Regions from separate parts of the Homo sapiens genome. Here region 2 is linked to region 1. Evidence: promoter capture Hi-C in human tissues and cell types (Jung and others, 2019). All regions are on one chromosome and are shown on one strand. The core of a region is centred on a gene start or on the middle of the fragment in contact, and the rest is flanking DNA. Distances in the headings are between cores, read along the strand shown.

Region 1 (3,539 bases), core at 252-2,751:
TTTCTTTATGGCCAGTTTTTACACAGACAAGTGAGGGAAAATCACAGTGATATTTTTGTTTTATGACTGGCTTTGGGGAAAAGCGTTCTGGTTTCGATGGCTAGCCTGGGGGAGAATGGGACCGAGAGACAGGAGGGCAGAAGATGACACAGAGACTGCTTCTGAGGCCTTCATTTTGGCGTATTGTTTTCTGAGCTCCAACATTGGCAAAAGGGGTTCCAAGCCGAGATGACCTAAGAGTACAGGCCTGAGGAGTGAGTGGTGTCCCCGCCATACTGAGGTTCTGAGTCTGGGCCCAGGACATGGTTGCACCGAAAGGCAGGGCAGGAAAGGGGAGCTGGGTTGGAGGGGGACAGACTGAGTCTGGGGTCCAGCGGGCAGTTGAAACTGCTGGTGAGGACATGAGGCCAGTTTGAATCCAAGCAGCCTGGCTTCAAACTCCTTGTTCCGGAGGAGGAACCGCAAGTCCTCCCAAGGCCTTGGAGAAAAGTGAGCTAAAGGCAGAACGTGGGCCGATAACGTGGGGGCGTGGGGGGACCGCGACCCAGCCCGGGGAAGGCGTCCCAGCATGGACCCAGCAGCCTGGGCAGCCTGGGCGGGAAGTTCTGATCGCGCTCTGCCGAATTGGCAGGCGCAATAAGTAAGCGGAAAAACCAGGATTCAAACCAACCACCAACACCCTTCCCTGGCGTTCAGACCGAAGGTGGGTGGGAAGGCCCTGGCGAAGGAGGTCTGCATCAGGCCTGGCCTTGAGGCGATCCCTTCTCACCCCAAACCTCCTGGACGCTGAGCAAGCCCCTTCGCCTGTGTGGGTTGCCCGGCTGCCCTCTGGGGAAAGTTGGGTGATCAAATCCCAAGTTGTAGCTCTCGATGGGTCGAGGGCGATGGCCAGCGCTGTGCTGGGAACGGGCAGCCCTGCCCTGCCCTGCCCTGCCCTGCCCTGCCCTGCCCTGCCCTGCCCCACATGGGCGCAGGAGGCCTCCGCACGCGCAAGGGCCAAGGGCTGGAGGGGGCTCTCCCGGGCACAGGCACCGGACCCGGGGCGCGCGCGCGCGTCCTTAGTCCCCGGGCTGCACTCCGGGCCGCTGAGAGATCGGGTCCCAGAAGTTCCGGGAGTGGTCGGGTGACCCTGGAACTTTCTTCTTCTGGAGCCCGACCTGGGGCTGACTGCAGAGCAGGCTGCTGGCAGGGACCAAAAGGAGCTCCGCGCCAGGCCGGAGGCTGCGCCCGTCACTCGCGGTCCCGGCCGGGTCCCTGGCGCGTAGTCAGGCCGCACCGCCCGAGCCCCACCGCGCGCCCACCCCGGCCGGGTGCGTCCGGCTCGCGGCCGTCCCTCCCGCGACCTGTGGCCCGGGGCTGCTGCGGGCGCCCGGGGAAGAGAGGCGGGGGCCGCGGGGGGCAGGAGGAGCGGCTGCGGCCGGCACAGCGCCAGGGCGAGTGAGGCGGGTGGCGCGGGGGAGGCGGCGGAGTAAAGAGAGGCCGCCGGCTGGGTCCGCGGGTCACTCCGAGGCGCGGGCTGCGGGCGGCGGGCGGCGGGCGCACCATGCCCTCCTTCGACGAGGCGCTGCAGCGGGTGGGCGAGTTCGGGCGCTTCCAGAGGCGCGTGTTTTTGCTGCTGTGCCTGACGGGCGTCACCTTCGCCTTCCTCTTCGTCGGCGTGGTCTTCCTGGGCACGCAGCCCGACCACTACTGGTGCCGCGGGCCAAGTGCCGCGGCGCTGGCCGAGCGCTGCGGCTGGAGCCCGGAGGAGGAGTGGAACCGCACGGCGCCCGCCTCCCGCGGCCCAGAGCCCCCCGAGCGCCGCGGCCGCTGCCAGCGCTACCTCCTGGAGGCGGCCAACGACAGCGCCTCCGCCACTAGCGCTCTCAGCTGCGCGGACCCACTCGCCGCCTTCCCCAACCGCTCGGCTCCCCTTGTGCCGTGCCGCGGCGGCTGGCGCTACGCCCAGGCCCACTCCACCATCGTCAGCGAGGTAAGGGCGCCCCGGCCCTTTGGAAGCCGGCGGGAGAGGACGATGCTGGCTCCCAGGCGGACAAGCCGCGTGTGAGACGCTGGCCGCCAGGGGAGGTCGGTGGAGACGGGGACCGGTCGGCTACCTCTGGGGACAGACAGGATTCAGCGCACCCTTGGAAGTGCCGCGTCGTAAATGCTGGGAAAAGCCTTTCGTTATCTGCCTGAGCCCGTGAGTTAATGCACAGATACTTTGGTTTCGGGTGTGAACAAAAACTTTCTTCGAAGCCGAGTTGTAAACGCCTGGCGCACGCCTGCTCAGGAGTCAAAGACCCAGCACCGCGTTCCTTATCTTTGAGGTGTGCGGGCGCCGTCATTGGAAATTATGGTTAGGTGCGCGATAGGGAACTTCAGTCTCTGGGGTGAGCGACGTTGGCAGTTCCGGATTCGCTTATGGTCTCCAGGGTCAAAGGAAAGGGCGAACCAACGTTTGAAGGCAGCAGCAGCTTTTTTCCAGTTGCCCAAATGGTTACTCAAAATGCAAGGGGACAAAGGTCGAGGCTTTCCCGGGGAATGGTTTTGGTAAAATTGCTTTGGGGCAAAGAGCAACATCTGGGATAAGTTGGGAAAACTGAAGTATTGGATAAATTTTAGTTTTTTTTTCTGGTAATAAATTTTAGGAACATAGCGGGAGGGCCACAGCCTTCCAACGCAAATCCCCAACCCATTTACAGGCGGAGGCTGCTGCCGGCGGGTGGGCGGGGGCGATCCCCACATTTTGGGCAGTCAGTGCATTTGGAAGTTAGGGGAGCTTCCTTCACCCTTGCCCTCAGTAATCTGTTTCTGCATCCTTGCTGAAATGGAAGATTGCCTCTCTGTGAGGTCCAGATATAGAGCAGAGTCACTTTGTAATAATCGGAACTCAGAAACGGCCTCAATTGAGCATGGGTTGCAGAGATGAGCAGTTTTACTGAGCTTTGTCTACAATCACAGCTTAAGTTAATTTTAAAAAAAGATTGAATGTGATCAGGTACATTAGGAAAAAAGGTTTGTCTTTTTTTTGTGATAAACTTTAAAAAATCACCTACTTGAAGAGTGGGGAAAACACTGGATGAGGAGGTAGGAGCGCCCTTTCTGCCGCTGTTGCTGTTGGTCTGGTGAGCTTATCTCGCTGCAGTTGGGAGTGTCGGTGGTTGCAATTGTACATGTTTTATACGCCATGTGCTGGTGTGTTCGCACAGTGGATGGCTCTATGCTATGTGCTCCAGGGATAAAACCCATGGCAGGACAGCCAGGCGATGTGTGTATGTGTTTGGGATCTTTCTGTAACGCCGTGTGCTGCTGTGTTCGCACAGTGGATGGCTCTATGCTAAGTGCTCCAGGGATAAAACCCCCTGGCAGGACAGCCAGGCAATGTGTATGTGTGTTCAGGGTGTTTCTATAATGCCACATGCAAGTGTGTTCGCACACTGAGTGGCTCTATGCTGAGTGATCTCAGGATAAACCCCCCTGGCAAGACAGCCAGGCAATACATATGTGTGTTGGGATCTTTAATTTCTACTTAATCCATGGTAAGGCTGGGGACTGCT
Region 2 (3,852 bases), core at 587-3,086, 130 kb before region 1:
ATTGTGTGGGAGTCTAAGTCTCTAAGTAGTTCTCCAAGGACTTGCTTTATGAATCTGGTTGCTCCTGTATTGGGTGCATATATATTTAGGATAGTTAGCTCTTCTTTTTGAATGGATCCCTTTACCATTATGTAATGGCCTTCTTTGTCTCTTTTGATCTTTGTTGGTTTAAAGCCTGTTTTATCAGAGACTAGGATTGCAACTCGTTTTTTTTTTGTTTTGTTTTCCATTTGCTTGGTAGATCTTCCTCCATCCCTTTATTTCAAGCCTACGTGCGTCTTTGCACATGAGATGGGTCTCCTGAATACAGCACACTGATGGGTCTTGACTCTTTATCCAATTTGCCAGTCTGTGTCTTTTAATTGGCACATTTAGCCCATTTACATTTAAGGTTAATATTGTTATGTGTGAATTTGATCCTGTCATTATGATGTTTGCTGATTATTTTGCCTGTTAATTGATGCAGTTTCTTCCTAGGATTGATGGTCTTTACAATTTGGCATGTTTTTGCAGTGGCTGGTGCTGGTTTTTTCTTTCTATGTTTAGTGCTTCCTTCAGGAGCTCTTGTAAGGCAGGCCTGGTGGTGACAAAATCTCTCAGCATTTGCTTGTCTGTAAAGGATTTTATTTCTCTTTCACTTATGAAGCTTAGTTTGTCTGCACATGAAATTCTGCGTTGAAAATTCTTTTCTTTAAGAATGTTTAATATTGGCCCCCACTCTCTTCTGGCTTGTAGAGTTTGGGCTGAGAGATTCACTGTTAGTCTGATGGGCTTCCCTTTGTGGGTAACCTGACCTTTCTCACTGGCTGCCCTTAACATTTTTTCCTTCATTTCAACCTTGGTGAATCTGACAATTATCTGTCTTGGGGTTGCTCTTCTCGAGGAGTATCTTTGTGGTGTTCTCTGTATTTCCTGAATTTGAATGTTGGCCTGTCTTGCTAGGTTTGGGAAGTTCTCCTGGATAATATCCTGAAAAGTGTTTTCCAACTTGGTTTTATTCTCCCTGTCACTTTCAGGTACACCAATCCATCATAGATTTGGTCTTTTCACATAGTCCCATATTTGTTGGTGGCTTTGTTCATTTCTTTTTACTGTTTTTTCTCTAAACTTCTCTTCTTGCTTTATTTCATTCATTTGATCTTCAATCACTGACCCTTTCTTCCACTTGATCAAATCAGCTACTGAAGCTTTTGCATGCGTCATGTAGTTCTCATGCTATGGTTTTCATCTCCATTAGGTCATTTAAGGTCTTCTCTACACTGTTTATTCTAGTTAGTCATTCGTCTTTTTTCAAGATTTTTAGCTTCCTTGCGTTGGGTTCAAACACCTTCCTTTAGCTCAGAGAAGTTTGTTATTACCGACCTTCTGAAGCCTACTTCTGTCAACTCGTTAAAGTCATTCTCCGTCCTCCTTTGTTCCGCTGCTGGTGAGGAGCTGCGATCCTTTGGAGGAGAAGAGTTGCTCTGGCTTTTAAAATTTTTGGCTTTTCTGCTCTGGTTTCTCCCCATCTTTGTGGTTTTATCTACCTTTGGTCTTTGATGTTGGTGACCTACAGATGGGGTTTCGGTGTGGATGTCCTTTTTGTTGATGTTGATGCTATTGCTTTATGTTTGTTAGTTTTTCTTCTAACAGTCATGTCCCTCAGCTGCAGGTCTGTTGGAGTTTGCTGGAGGTCCACTCCAGACCCTGTTTGCCTGGGTATCACCAGTAGAGGCTGTAGAACAGCAAATATTGAAGAACAGCAAATATTGCTGCCTGATCCTTCCTCTGGAAGCTTTGTCCCAGAGGGGCACCCGCCTATATGAGGTGTCAGTCAGCTTCTACGGGGAGGTGTCTCCCAGTTAGGCTACATGGGGGTCATGGACCCACTTGAGAAGGCAGTCTGTCCATTCTCAGAGCTCAAAAACTGTGCTGGGAGAACCACTGCTCTATTCAGAGCTGTCAGACAGGGACATCTAAGTCTGCAGAAGTTTTTGCTGCCTTTTATTCAGCTATGCCCTGCCCCCAGAGGTGGAGTCTATAGAGGCAGCAAGCCTCGCAGCACTGCAGTAGGCTCTGCCCCATTTGAGCTTTCTGGCAGCTTTGTTTACCTACTCAAGCTTCAGCAATGGCAGATGCTCCTGCCACTGCCAGGCTGCTGCCTTGTAGGTTGATCTCAGACTGTTGCACTAGCAGTGAGCAAGGCTCTGAGGGCATGGGACCCACCGAGCCAGGCATGGGATATAATCTCCTGTTGTGCTGTTTGCTAAGACTGTTGGAAAAGTGCAGTATTTAAGCGGGAGTGTCCCGTTTTTCCAGGTACAGTCTGTCATGGCTTCCCTTGGCTAGGAAAGGGAAATCCCCTGACCTCTTGCGCTTCCCAGGTGAGGTGACACCCCACCCTGCTTCAGCCCTCCATGGGCTGCACCCACTGTCCCACCAGTCCCAATGAGGTGAACCAGGTACCTCAGTTGGAAATGCAGAAATCACCCATCTTCTGCATTGATCACGCTGGGAGCTGCAGACTAGAGCCGTTTCTATTTGATCGTCTTAGAACAGACCTCCACAATCTTTATCTTAACCTGAACATTCCCTTTCTATCAATTCCAGATCTTTAGACAAACCCAACCAATTGTCAACCAGAAAATGTTTAACTTCACCTATAGCCTGGAAGCCCCCGCCATGCCCTCCTCACTTTGAGTTGTCCTGCCTTTCTGGACCAAACCAATGTATTTCTTAAATGCATTTGATTGATGCCTCATGCCTCTCTAAAATGTATAAAACCAAGCTGTGCCCCGACCACCTTGGGCACATGTTCTCAGGACCTCCTGAGAGCTGTGTCACGAGCCATGGTCACTCATATTTGGCTCAGAATAAATCTCTTTAAATATTTTATAGAGTTCAACACTTTTCTTTGACACTGGTACCAATTTATTGTATTATTCTGTTCTCATGATACTAATAAAGACATACCACACTGGGTAATTTACAAAGGAAAAAGTTTTGGCTTACAGTTCCACATGGCTGGGGAGGCCTCACAATTGTGGTGGAAAGCAAAGGAGGAGCAAAAGCACGTATTACATGACAGAAAGCAAGAGGAGTCCTGGCATGTAAAGGGGAATTCCCTATTATGAAACCATCAGATATCATGAGACTTATTCACTACCACAAGAACAGCACAGGAAAAACCTGCCCCCATGATTCAATTACGTTGCATTTGGTACCTCCCATGACACGTGGGGATTATTACAATTCAAGGTGAGATTTGAGTGGGGACACAGAGCCTAACTATATCATGGGGGTTCAAGATCTTCAGATTCATTTGGGTTCAGTCAGTGTCTCCATTCCAGTTCTGAGATTCCCTCCTTCCTACCCATTTTGTAACTTTTGTTTAAGAGACCTGATGAGGGTATGAATTCAGCCTATGGTGCAATTCTACAGCCTATAATATCAATGTTTCTCTTCTCTCTTGCTCCTTCCTTCCCATCTCTGGCCAGTGTGACCCACTGTATAGGAAGCCAGGTGGTGACGGGTCTGAGAAATGTCATTTTCAGGTTTCAACAGTTGATGCCACAGAAGAGAGTGCAGGAGGACAGGCATACCTGCTTTCTCAGGAAGCTATTGGAAATTATGCTTCTTTAAAATGTGACAAAAATCAAGAAGGAGATGGCATCTAGGAGACAGGAGACAAAAGGAACACTCAGGAAGGTGGGGAAAGAGAGCCCAGGGCAACAGCTCTGCTGCAGACCTAGAGATCCACCAGGCGAAAGTGGAGCAGGAGGGCTGGGGGCTCCATGTGGGAGGTCTCTCAGAACAAAAGAAAAGAAGAGAAACCAATGCGTGACGTATTTGAATACATTGAGGGGAGAGCTA

What was found. Contacts are between HindIII fragments. The study calls those that stand out against the background at their distance.
Region 2: a contact is called between a fragment that was not itself captured here and the fragment with the promoter of SLC22A3 in region 1, in 1 of the 25 tissues and cell types used here (H1 embryonic stem cells).

The regions. Positions count from the first base shown.
Region 1 is chr6:160,346,877-160,350,415 of GRCh38, forward strand. SLC22A3 (solute carrier family 22 member 3) reads left to right here and starts at 1,502. Exons shown (of 11, transcript NM_021977.4): 1 at 1,502-1,972. The coding sequence starts at 1,544. The HindIII fragment of the contact is 13,379 bases long and covers 1-3,539 here.
Region 2 is chr6:160,212,342-160,216,193 of GRCh38, forward strand. No RefSeq gene overlaps it. Among named protein-coding and RNA genes, the nearest start is that of SLC22A2, 45 kb to the right of the region's middle. The HindIII fragment of the contact is 4,279 bases long and covers 1-3,852 here.